Linked DNA regions of Homo sapiens: all the other regions are linked to region 2. The links are contacts of gene promoters, found by promoter capture Hi-C in blood cells and fetal thymus (Javierre and others, 2016). All regions are on one chromosome and are shown on one strand. The core of a region is centred on a gene start or on the middle of the fragment in contact, and the rest is flanking DNA. Distances in the headings are between cores, read along the strand shown. Region 1 has its middle 190 kb from the start of MIR3125. Region 2 holds the start of NTSR2 (neurotensin receptor 2). Region 3 overlaps LOC105373436 (a long non-coding RNA gene). Region 4 holds the start of LOC105373436 (a long non-coding RNA gene).

Evidence for each region. Contacts are between HindIII fragments. The CHiCAGO score rates a contact against its expected background, and 5 or more counts as called.
Region 1: a fragment that was not itself captured here is called in contact with the fragment with the promoter of NTSR2 in region 2 in 1 of 17 cell types (neutrophils); the score reaches 5.2 in neutrophils.
Region 3: a contact is called between a fragment that was not itself captured here and the fragment with the promoter of NTSR2 in region 2, in 4 of 17 cell types (activated CD4 T cells, total CD4 T cells, total CD8 T cells and 1 more). The highest score is 9.7, in activated CD4 T cells.
Region 4: a contact is called between a fragment that was not itself captured here and the fragment with the promoter of NTSR2 in region 2, in 1 of 17 cell types (total B cells). The highest score is 5.8, in total B cells.

Annotation. Positions count from the first base shown.
Region 1 is chr2:12,929,872-12,932,918 of GRCh38, forward strand. No RefSeq gene overlaps it. Among named protein-coding and RNA genes, the nearest start is that of MIR3125, 190 kb to the left of the region's middle. The HindIII fragment of the contact is 3,999 bases long and covers 1-3,047 here.
Region 2 is chr2:11,668,661-11,671,605 of GRCh38, forward strand. It overlaps NTSR2 (neurotensin receptor 2), which reads right to left and starts at 1,535. Exons shown (of 4, transcript NM_012344.4): 1 at 846-1,535. The coding sequence starts at 1,469. RefSeq lists an enhancer at 976-1,512. The HindIII fragment of the contact is 6,464 bases long and covers 1-2,945 here.
Region 3 is chr2:13,018,582-13,021,595 of GRCh38, forward strand. All of the region lies in intron 1 of LOC105373436 (a long non-coding RNA gene), which reads left to right. Among named protein-coding and RNA genes, the nearest start is that of MIR3125, 280 kb to the left of the region's middle. The HindIII fragment of the contact is 179 bases long and covers 1,580-1,758 here.
Region 4 is chr2:13,000,423-13,003,122 of GRCh38, forward strand. LOC100506474 (a long non-coding RNA gene) reads right to left here. Exons shown (of 6, transcript NR_038434.1): 3 at 2,002-2,186; 4 at 1,166-1,319. LOC105373436 (a long non-coding RNA gene) reads left to right here and starts at 367. Exons shown (of 5, transcript XR_001739293.2): 1 at 367-595. The HindIII fragment of the contact is 4,127 bases long and covers 1-2,700 here.

The DNA of each region.
Region 1 (3,047 bases), core at 451-2,950, 1.3 Mb after region 2:
GGCCCACAGAGAGCAGGTGTTCCCTAAATGATGACAGAGGGATGGGCTTGTTTCAGCCAGCCAGCTTCTAAGAAGTTTCCAGTGAGATCGAACTGCTCCTTCCCCTACATTTTCAGGGCATTCTATTTAGTATGCACCTTTCCCCCTTCCTCCACCCCACCACATTCTCATCACAGTTCTGTGTGTCAGAATGATGTTTATCCCTAAGGCTATTTATGGGCATGACTGGATTTTATCTTAGCTTCCTTGAAGTGGCCCAGTCAAGTGAAATGAGTCTGCATTTTAAACAAAATAATGTGCTTCTTTCTAAAACAAGATTTTTTAATCTATAAAATATAGCTCATAAAACCCTTTTCACACATAATCTATGCTAAGTAATATCTTTTTCTTTATTGTCTATTTCATTCCTCCCTCCTGGTGGGCACACCATGAGAGAGTTCCTTGAACGGGTGTGTCAACTGTTTCCCAGTGGCAATAGGGCCGTTCTGCCTGTTACTGCAAAAAATGAGGTAGAGTTCCCATATCTTGGAGGATATATCTCTTCATGGGAAGAGAAAAATCCTAGCTCTGCATTCCAGCTCATGGGCTGTGTGCACCAGCTATTTTGGGGAAGGGGAAAGCCAGTCTCACAACACTTTCCCCAGAGAAAAGATGCCAATCTCAACATTAACCATTAGGAAACATCATTAAAGCAGATGAGAAATGGGCTGCGGACATTTTTATGAGCCCAAAATACTCTACTTGGAGGTTTTATGGAGACCACAGGAAGCCAGAGAGACAATGACATCCATACCCTTTTTTTAGAGTCTGCTGAGCTGAGGAACAATCTCTGTGCTCCATAGAGTGTGTTTTTGCAAGTGTAAATTACCATTGGGGGCCATGTCAAAGTAAGCCTTTTTCAGAGACTTGTGCACCTGTTGGAGATAGAATGCTCTAGGCCAAGTAGTTGTGGGCTTACTGTCCATATCCATCCAGAGTTGCAAAGAAAATACTTCCTTTTGATTCCAGGACAGTCTTGGAATTAGTCTTTAGAGAAGGCTATTCTGCTTAAATCTGCATGGTTGCAACATTGCACCAGTAATCTCTATATATTGGTTTTCTTATTTTTTCATATGACAAAATGAAGCTCAGAAAAGTTGAGAAACTTGCACACACACACAACTAGTAAGTAAAGGAATCAGAATTTGACTCTGCATGTTCTTCCTTATGGCACCACCTCCTTATCCAAGCCCAAAATGTAGATTTAAGGCAGGGACAGGAAAGAGGGTGTGCATACAGAAGTGGCCCCAAATGAGGTCTCTTGGGTCTTTATTTAGGGCAAGCTCAGCAGAGATATTTTTTTCTCTGTACATCAGGAATTGTGTTTTTAAGGCATTAAACCACACAGTGAAAATAGGAGAGAGGTGAGCAAAGTCCTGGCAGGTTGCTCTCTGCCTTCAGTAATGCAGTTGTGTGTTTTCCCGGGAGCCCTAGAAGAGGGATGGGGAAGATGGTCCAGAATAGTCCTGAATTGTAGAGCTTTCCTATTTATACTGACATCTCGTGGTAGTGCTGTGTGACTGCAATCTGCATTGTCTTGGGAGCCAAGCATTCAACTTTACCAATATTCATTTTACTCATTCGTGAATTAATTGAACCAGAAGTTGTTACTAAGCACTTGGTATTTGCCAGGCACTGTGCTAGACACTAGAGAATACTATGACATGCTCACAGAAAGATCCTGGGAAAGACCAAATTGGAAACTCTTAAAGGAGCTCAATGCTTATCAAAGCGTTAAGAACAACAACTAGTGAATGTAGGTGGCAGAGTTGGCCAGGTACTTAGTAATGGTGGTACTATGTCCTCTGCATTTATCATCCCATTGAATCTTCATAATGATCCTCACTGGTGAGTATTCTCATTCAGATTTCAGATGGAAGGAAACTAAAACTATAAGAGGTTATTTAAAACACCCTAGTTTAAAAACCTCCTAAGCAGTGAAGTTAGGATTTGAACTCTGATTTTTGAGATCTCACAGCCAGAACTATACTTCTCTGTGAACAAACAGCAAGAAGAGATTAATTCCAATGGTCAAGTGTCATTTGAAAAGGGCTTAAGTTTATTTGCACGAGATTTAGCCCATGACAATCATGGGTATCAGACTTCCCAGATGTCTACTAGTTAAATGAAACTAGGTCTGTTCAATTTAATTTAATTTAGCAACCAAAACCCTACTGCTAACATCTTTGTGCATATGTTTCAGTTGGTCTTCTTCTATAAACTCGTAAATACATGAATATATAAACAAAAAAGGGAATCATACTGTATATGCTGTTTGTAACTTTCTTATTTTGTCTAATTTATTAGCTTCCTATTGCTAAACACCAACTTATCACAAATTTAGCTGAAAACAACTCCCATTTATCTCATAGTTCTGCAGGTCAGATTTCCAGGCAGGCTCGATTGGATTCTCTGCTTAGGATCTCACAAGGACAAAGTCAAGATAATGTGCCCAGCTGGGCTCTTATCTGGAGGCCCTGGGGAAGAATCTGCTTCCAAGCTCATTCTGGTCTTGGGCAGACTTGAGTTTTTTGTCACTGCAAAACTGAGGACCTTTTTTATTCTTGCTGGGTGCTGGCCACGGACCAATTTTGCTCCTAGAGGCTCCTCTCAGGTCCTTGACAATGACCCTCTATCTCAGCAATGGACAGCCGCCTCCAGGTCAAATCTCTCCCCACTTCTAATCTCTCGAAACTTCTCTTCTACTATTATCTGGGAAAATTCCTATTTTCAAAGGGCTCTTACCATTAGGTTAGGTCTACCAAGATGACCTCCCCTATCTTAAGATCAACTGATAAGTAACCATAATGACATCTGCAAAATCCCTTTTGCTGTGTAATGTAGTATATCCTGGGAATGCCACTGGGGCAAAAGTCAAGGGGCATTTTAGAATTCTGGCTACCACGTTTAACAAACATGTTTTCAAAATGTATTTATTGACAGCGTACTTTGTGCTTGAGTCTAGGCTCTAGAGCTATGATAGTGAACAGAATACATAAAAACTGCAT
Region 2 (2,945 bases), core at 285-2,784:
AATGTGCTGGATACATGAGATCATGGTCTAATGTGACTAGAGCAAGCGACCAGAGGACACTGGCTTGTAGAACGATGCGGAAATGGAGACAGACACTTCGAAAGGTGAGCATCACTTTCAGAAAATGCATTGTGAAGTGCTGCAAATACATCACATGCTGAGAGAATTCAGAAGACGGGAGAGTCCCTGGAGTTGGGGAGGAGGTGAGATCAGAGCTGCACTTTGGGGAATAAGAAGGGTTGGAACCAAAAGCAGAAGAATGAGCTTTTGACTTAAAAGCCAGAGGCTGGGCATGGTGTGGGGTTCGGGGAAAGCGGGAGCAAGAGGTGTGGGGGGACAAGTGGCCTGGAGGAGGCAAGGCTGCCAGGGAGACGGTAACAGGAAATGAGGTTAGAAGCCTGATCAGGCCTCTGGAAGAGAGGCCGGGAGTGCCTTCCCCGTCCCCACCCTACCTCCAGGGAGGCCCTCTCCAGAGCCGTCTGGGGAGCTCGTTGGAACACAGACTTCGGGCTACTGAGGCAGGAACCTGGGTGGGTCATGGACTCCGGATTTTCACAGGCTCTGCAGGCAACTTTACGCCCAAATGTCTGAGCACCACTCTCGCAAGAGTGGGAACACTGACTTTGGAGTTAATTTTGAATTGAAATCGGGACTTCTCTCAATGCTTCACTTTGGCCACGCCTCCCTCCTTCTAGTAAAATGGGACAGAGCAACAAGACCCAACTTGCTGGGTGGTGGCGAGCATTAGAGTCGAAAATGTCTGTTCCCCGGGGAGAGGGGGTTCCCTCCTCCCAGCACCGCCCCCCCACCCCCCCTCCCCCGACTCCCGCTCTCCACGCCCTTACCTGGATAAAGACTTGGAGCGCGGTGCGGCTCACCAGCACCGTGCACACTCGCGAGGCGGGCTCCGGCTCCCCGTCCGCCGTCTCGAGTTCGTGCTTCTGCCCCATGATGACGGCCATGGGCAGGGCGAGGCCGAGCGAGGCGGCCCACGAGAGCGCCACCAGCCACCGGGTCCGGCGTGGCGTCAGCAGGCTGCGGGCACGCAGGGGCTGGCACACGGCTAGGCAGCGCTCGGCGCTCAGGCCTGCCACGCTCAGCACCGTGGCGTAGGCGCACAGCTCGTGCACGAAGTAGTAGCCGCGGCAGCCCAGGTCGCCGAAGACCCAGGGGTAGTGGAACCACACGAAGCTGTAGAGCTCCACCGGCACGCCGACCAGCAGCAGCAGCAGGCCCGCGAGCGCCAGGCTGAGCACGTGGTGGCGCAGGCGCCCCGCGCGCCCGGCCCGCGCCTTCAGCACCACGTGCGCGGACAGCGCATTGCCCGCCGCGCCCAGCGCCCAGATGAGTGCGTAGAGCGCGGTGAACAGCACCTTGGCCCAGAGGCGAGTGTCCACGCCCAGCCGGGCGTCCAGGCTCAGCCCCGGGTTGGAGCTGGGCCGCGGGGGCCGCGGGCTGCTGGTTTCCATCCCGCTCCCGCGGCCGGCGCTCCCTCCCTCTCACTGCCCGGAGTCTGGGCGAGCTGCCTGGTTAGTGAGCACCTCCTCTTCTCTGGGAACCTCTAGAACTGGGAGGACACGCCCCCGAAAGGGTGTCCCTGAGCCAACGTGGGACCGCGAGTGCCAGCCCGTTAGCGTCGGTCACACGTCTGGGTTCAGTTCAACCCAGGGAAGCGCGTGCTGGTGGAAAGGGGGTTGGGTTCCTTCAGGGGCTGATAGTCCCGAGTTGGGCCGAACTCCACCACTTTCGAACTTTGTGAACTTGGGCAAGTTTTTTAACCTCTCTGAATCTGGTTTTGCAACTTTATTATCGACACTGCAGAATTTCTGGGAAGATGAAATGAGCGAACGTGTGTGTGGAAGTTTCTACCTGCAGCATAAATAGACATGGTGCTTTCGTCTTGCGCCTTGGCCCTTGTGTTGATTTGTGTGTGTGTGCAGCTCGGGAGAGATCTTGGGAAAGACTTTCCCAGCACTTCAGCATTTTGTTATTGTTCTTGCTAAAGGGCTGTTTCAATGCCATCCTAAGAGCCCCAGGAAGCTCCTTTGTCACTGAGAATACATCCTCATGGTGCCACACTTTCCCAGTCCTTTGAGAGTGTCATTCTCATGGAGCTAGGGGATGAAGTGAGAAGTGTTTTTAGCATGTTTTAAAACCTTTCACTTTTCTAAATTCATGCAGAACACCCGAACTTTAGAGCTGAAAAGCCCAGAGGCCTTCTCATTTCATCCAAGAACCCCTGGTATTTACTGAGGGGCAGAATTGAAATTGGAACCCAGGGATCCTGACTTTTTTGTCTTCAGCAAAGTTATTATGGCCCGGTGATAATCAGTTTAATCTTCCATGTGGGCATATAACCATATCTACATTGAAATTGAGATTATGTAAATATACTTTTACTCTGCACAATAAATTTATTGAAATTATAAGCATTTATTGAACGACAAGAATCATTAACAACCAGGGCTGGATTCTTAGGCATGTGACTGTGTTTTTGCATGGGGTCCCATGCTTGAAAAGGCCTTGTCCTGAGTCAAATGCTGTTGTCATCTGGGAATTCTGCATCATTTTTGAACAAGGAACCCTGCAATTTCATTTTGTATAGAGTCTTGCAAATTATGTAGCCAGTTGTAACTACAAATGAGAACATCCCACAAAGAAAGTAAATTGAGCAGAAGTGGTTAGACATATATTCAGTCTGATGTGTTTTGCAATTGAGGGACAAAGAAAGGAAGAGGGCTTTCTTTGTCAGAATATGTGATTTTTTTAATGGTTTATAGCTCCTTCCTAAATGGTATTTTGAAGTTTTAATTGTATTTATTTATTATTTATTTTGAGACAGAGTCTTGCTGTGCTGCCCAGGCTGGAGTGCAGTGGCACAATTTCTGTTCACGGCAACCTCTGCCTTGAGGGTTCAAGCGATTCTCGTGTCTCAGCCATTCAAG
Region 3 (3,014 bases), core at 419-2,918, 1.4 Mb after region 2:
GGAAGGGATAACTGACCTCTAATATGTTGTGCAAATGCCGCTGGGTTTCTGATGAGGACTGCTCTTATCTGTAAAGCTGCTAACCCCTGAGTCTTGAAGAACAAAGATAAACACCAGCCGCCAGTCTTCTGACTGTACAACAAGTTGGCCTGGACAATCAAAACTCCTTCTTAACTGGTTCCATTGATGCTTTGTCCCTAAAGTCAGGAAGTACCTTCCTAGTAAGGGATTGCCTTTTAAAGCTTTTGATAATAGATCATGCTTCTTGCCATCCAGAAGCCCTAGAGGTCAACACTGAAATCACTGAAGTGATCTACTTGTCCCTAAACACAGTGTTTCTAATTCAGCCTCTAGATCGGGAGGTCAGAAGGACTGTTAATGCTCATTACACATGGTACTCTATGGAAAGGATTGTCAATGCTGTGGAAGGGAACACTGATAGAGAAAACATTATGAATGTCTAGAAGGGTCACACCATTGAAAATGCCATTATTGCTATGGAAAAATTCATGAAAGCCATCAAGCCCAAAACAATACATTTCTATGGGAGAAAACTGGGTCCAGGTGTTGTGAATGACTTCACTGGGTTTACAACAGAGCCAATCAAAGAAATAATGAAAGAGATTATGCATATGGCAAAAAAAAAAAAGGTGGGTGTGAAGGGTTTCAAGGTATAAGTCTTGAGAGAAATTCAAAAGTGAAAAGATACCACACTGGAGGAATTAACAGAAGACAACTTGGATGGAGTTGAGTGCTTCTGAACCAGTATCAGATGATGAGGAGGGAGATGGAAAAAACAGTGCAGAAAACAAATTGTTATTAGACAATCTGGAAGAATCATTCTGATTATTCAAGACTACTTTGAAATGCTTTTACAGCATAGATAGACCCTTGTAGGATATGGGCACTGAGACTACAACAAATGGTGGGGGAAGAATTGGTACCATATAGAAATATTTGTAGATAAATTAAAAAGCAAAAATGTTGACAGAAATTATGATGTATTTCCATAAAGTTACACCACGTGCCTCTCTCTCCTGTCTCTTCCTTCTACCTCTTCAGCCTCTACCAGTTCTAAGACAGCAAGACCAAAACCTCTCTTCCTTTTTCTCAGCCTAGTCAACGTGAAGATGAGAATATAGACTTTCATGATGATCCACTTTCACTTAATAAATAGTAAATATATTTTCTCTTCCTTATAATTTTCTTAATAACATTTTCTTTTCTCTAGCTAACTTTACTGTAAGACTATAGTACGTAATACATCTAACATACAAAATACATGGTAATAAAGTGTTTATGTTTTCGGTACGGCTTCTTGTCAGCAGTAGTCTATTAGTAGTTAAGTTTGGGGGAAGTCAAAAGCTATACATCAATTTGTGACTATGGAGGAAGTTGGTTCCCCCTAACCTCATGTTGTTTATGGGTCTACTGTAATAAATCATCACCAGCAAAATTGTTCTGCATGAAAAGTATTTTCTATGTGTGCATGTGTTACATGTATATGTGCATGTACATATGTTTATATATATATTTATACACACACATATCTTGTGAAAGACTCATATTCAAAACATAAAGCTTCCAACACATCACCAATGTAAAGAAAATAAAACAATTAAATCGGCAATAGCTTGCAACTGATAATAAAGGAAGGTATGAGTGGTCAGCAGGTTATTTAAATTTGTTCAACATCATTAGTCATTGGATAAAATTAAATTAAAACTAAAAGAAGATACCATTTTACACTTACTAGAAAGCTTTACATTACAAAGGCGAAGCTAGTTGAAAGTTTGAACCATGCAAACTCTGACTTACATGCAGTAACCCTCATGCCAGCTCTACTCCTCAAAAAGCATCGACCCCCAAACCGGTCACCCCTCCTTGTTTTCTCAAGTCATTTGCTGATCGGGTTTGGAGCCTGCTGTGCTACCCTGTTGCAGGAGTGGGGGATCCATCTCCCACATCTCACATCTCTGATTTGGCTACAACACAAACAATACTAAATGTTGCAAATATGTGCAGCAGCTGGACACCCGCATATTCCTGCTGGGTGTGTATCATGGGATAAGCACTATGGAAGAAATGTCAACAGTTTCTTATCAAGTCCATGCATTCACCTCCCTTAATCCTCAGCGTTGTCCCTCCTAGATATTTTTCTAAGATATATTAAAATAAGTGTCCCAAAAAGACTTATTTAAGAATGTTCATAGCAATTTGATTCATTATAGCCCAAAACTGGAAATAACACAAATATCCATCAATAGTACAATAAATAAACAAATAGTGGTATATTCATAGAATTGAAAATGAATAAAAGGAGTGAAGATATACACAACTACATGGTTGGGTTTCAGAAACATTATATAGAGAGCAAGAAACTAGACATAAAAACACATATCGCAATTCTGTTTATCTGAAGATCAAAAATAGGCAATGCAGAAATCAGAAGGTGACTGCCTCTCTTGTGAGGCAGGCAGCTAGAATTGCCTGGTGAGTGGTCCAAGGGAATTGTTGTCATGGTGGAAAACTCTGTATCTTTTATCTATTCTTTTGGAGTTACATGAAAGTATGAAATTTCAAAACACATTCATCTGAACATTTAAAATAGGTACAGTTTTGTATATAGAAATTATACCCCAATTTAAAGCAGTGAAAAAGAGCTAACACACTACATATTGGGATAATTAATATATTAAATTTGCTAACAGGTTCCCCTTTATGTAGTACGTGTGTAATTGCTTCAAAGGCATCTCATTGCGAAGGACATAATGGTGTAAGTTAGGAATTCAATTTAAAGCCCTGTTTGCTATATGAAGATACTGGGCTCAGAAATGCAACTAACTTCCTCACTTTATGCCTCTACTAAGCAGTATCACTAGAAAGAGAATTGTATTCTTTCAGCTTCAATCTCAAGAGGCTACCCTCCCCCCCACTGTGGGATGTGCACCATGTGATATTTTCTGGATATATCTGTATCTTTGTGTGACTTTGAGAGTTGATGAGTGAAGGGC
Region 4 (2,700 bases), core at 14-2,513, 1.3 Mb after region 2:
TAAATTTCAAAAGTCAGATTCTGAAGATATTTAAGATCAAAACAAGATGGTTAGGATGGAAGGAAAAGCAACGCTGGAAAGAGTGGCTGAGATATTTCCATGAAGTGAAAGTGTGTTTTCCTCAGAATTCTCTAGTTTCTGCTGGGGGTAGGATAAGAGTTAATGAGAGCTCTGAGATGACCAGGATAACACCAACAGAAAGTGACAGAGTTTTTCTGCTCTCTTTATAAACATGAAATAAATCCTCAAAATCTAAAAGGAGAAAACGTCCTCAAGTACTAACATTGCTTTTGCTGTCACATTTGTCCTGGCTTTGCAGAGGTTAAAAAGATTATTGCATAGCAGCTTCCAAGCATGGAAAAAGGAGGTAATCAAATTGGACCACAGCCCAGGGAAACTGTGAGGTCTTACTGAGCACTGCGTGCCAGTGGAAAGAAGCATTTTGAAAGGTAAACTGGTGGGGGCGATGGGGTTCAGATATTCTCTGAGACCGGGAACGTCACTGCTCTCCCCGGGAAGCTGCTTTAGGCACAGTGCTCCTGCCTGACTCGGGAAGACTGCTCTCCTGGCCTCCTGGAAGTCATATGGGAAACAGGTACGCCTCCTCATGTTGCATCTTTATTCTAAGCTCACCAGCCATCCGTATAAGATTTCAGAAATCCAGGCAGACCAGAGTCACTCCCTGAACATGGGCCATGAAACAGCATAAGGAGTGGAAAGAGACTGTGATGGGAATCAGAGGACCTTAACTGAAGTTCATGACAATCAGGTCTGGCCAGTGGCCAGTCGCTTGACCATACTGAGCTTCAGCTGTTCTGTCACTGAAATGGTTACAGGGGATTCCTCAATAGCAGGGATAGTGTTCTATCCCATGTGTCTTCATGCACAGTGTAAGTGCTTCGTAAAAGTCGATAGAATAAACAAAAAGAAAACAAAGCAAGTACATGACCATATACAACACATTTTCATCGATGCTTAAATTACAATGAAATTATTTATAAAAACTTTTAATAAAATTATGACATTCACATTCTTACTATAAGTCAGTAACTGATTAAACTTGTTTCTGAACAAGGCAGATTCCATGGAGGAAATATCTGTCTACTCGACTACTTATTCTTATGTAAGCCTTGTCTTCCTGTAGAATTACTTAAATCAGACTCACCAGCTCTAGCTGTGTGGCAGGAAACAGGTGCAAGCACTCTGAGTTGGATTCAGATCATCTAGGAATTGGAGCTTCTAGCTGAAGAGTAAATCTGTGTGCATGCTCTTGACACATCCTTCCCCATCTGACAAGTTTTCCTGTCTTCTTCGGTGAGCTTTGAGACAGACAACCAGTGATGGAGGAAGAGGAAGTGTGACAGGTTCCACCTCCCCTTATAATCTATAGCATATCAGGTTCACAGCCATATCACCCAACAACCTGTATAACTAAAATAACACATAGGCTCTGCTCCCAAATATTGGTGAGATAAATATACACACATGAATAAAAATATATATTAATTAGTAAAGAAATGCCAGGCAAAAGACAATGATGGCCTACAAATGTTTGGGACAAAATGTATGTGCTGTGTGTTTGGAGGCAGAGGAGAGTAGAAGACTGGGTTGTCAATAAATGCTTCTGAGATGCTTCAGACTTACTACAGGTATCGACTGATGCTTTGTGTTGGGAAAAATAATACTTGAAAATAATTCTGGGGGCCTTGAGCAGGTGAAAAAGCATAAATGAATGTATAGCACATGCAGGGTGTGGTTGGTCACCAGGTGAGAAATTACATAAGGAGAAGAGTTGTTGATGAGAAAGAGCAGATCAGGTGGGATCAGAATGTCATGTTTTTGTCAGTAATAGGTAGATAGTGATTGATGGCTTTTCAGCAGAGACATAGTATGATCACATTAATGTTTTAGAAAAATACTTTCAGTTACAGTGCTAGGAAAAGGATTGCACAGAGAAAGAATAGAAGTAGGAAATGAATATAGTTGTGGTATGTAACCTACCTAAGCTCTGGAATTTATTCTTGGACCAAAACATCCTTGGGATCCAAATGGCCAGGTCAAGAAACATGGTTAAAACATCCTTGTTCATGTTATGAAACAGCTGCTCAGCAATCCCAATGATGGACCAGAGTCATTGCTGGAAGGAGCCTCAGTGGTGATGTTTAGGAAATTTCTTTGCAAACGGTCTGTTTAGCAGTGACAAGGGGCATGATACCGTGAACAAGGATGGCTGTTTGCGAAGTTGTCTAAAAAGGTGACTTTCAGGGTCTGGGAAAAGTTCCTCTAACTCCGGAGTGAATCAGCTGGGTCATATGGTCATCTGCCAGACCACGCTGGTCTACTGTTGACACAGACAGGTGCACTCAGAGCTGACTAGAATATATGTGTTTTGCTGTAGTCCTTTGGTGGGTATATAAACACAGCTTGTGCCTGCCTCTTCCTTTGCTATTTCTCATACATGGTTTTGGCTCCAGGTATCTTTTGAATGAATAAACTGGGTCAAATGAAGGGTATATTGCTGCAATCTGTTAAAGAAAAGCAAATCCTAGTGCCAAGATCAGAAGAAAGTTCTCCTGGGGAGTGAGCCAATGTCACTGTCTTTGCTTGGAGAAATGTGGCCAATAATTATATCCAAGCAGTAAAATAGAACTTTTTTCCTTCCTCCAGCTGGCAGAGGGATTTGGACCACATCTGTTAAAT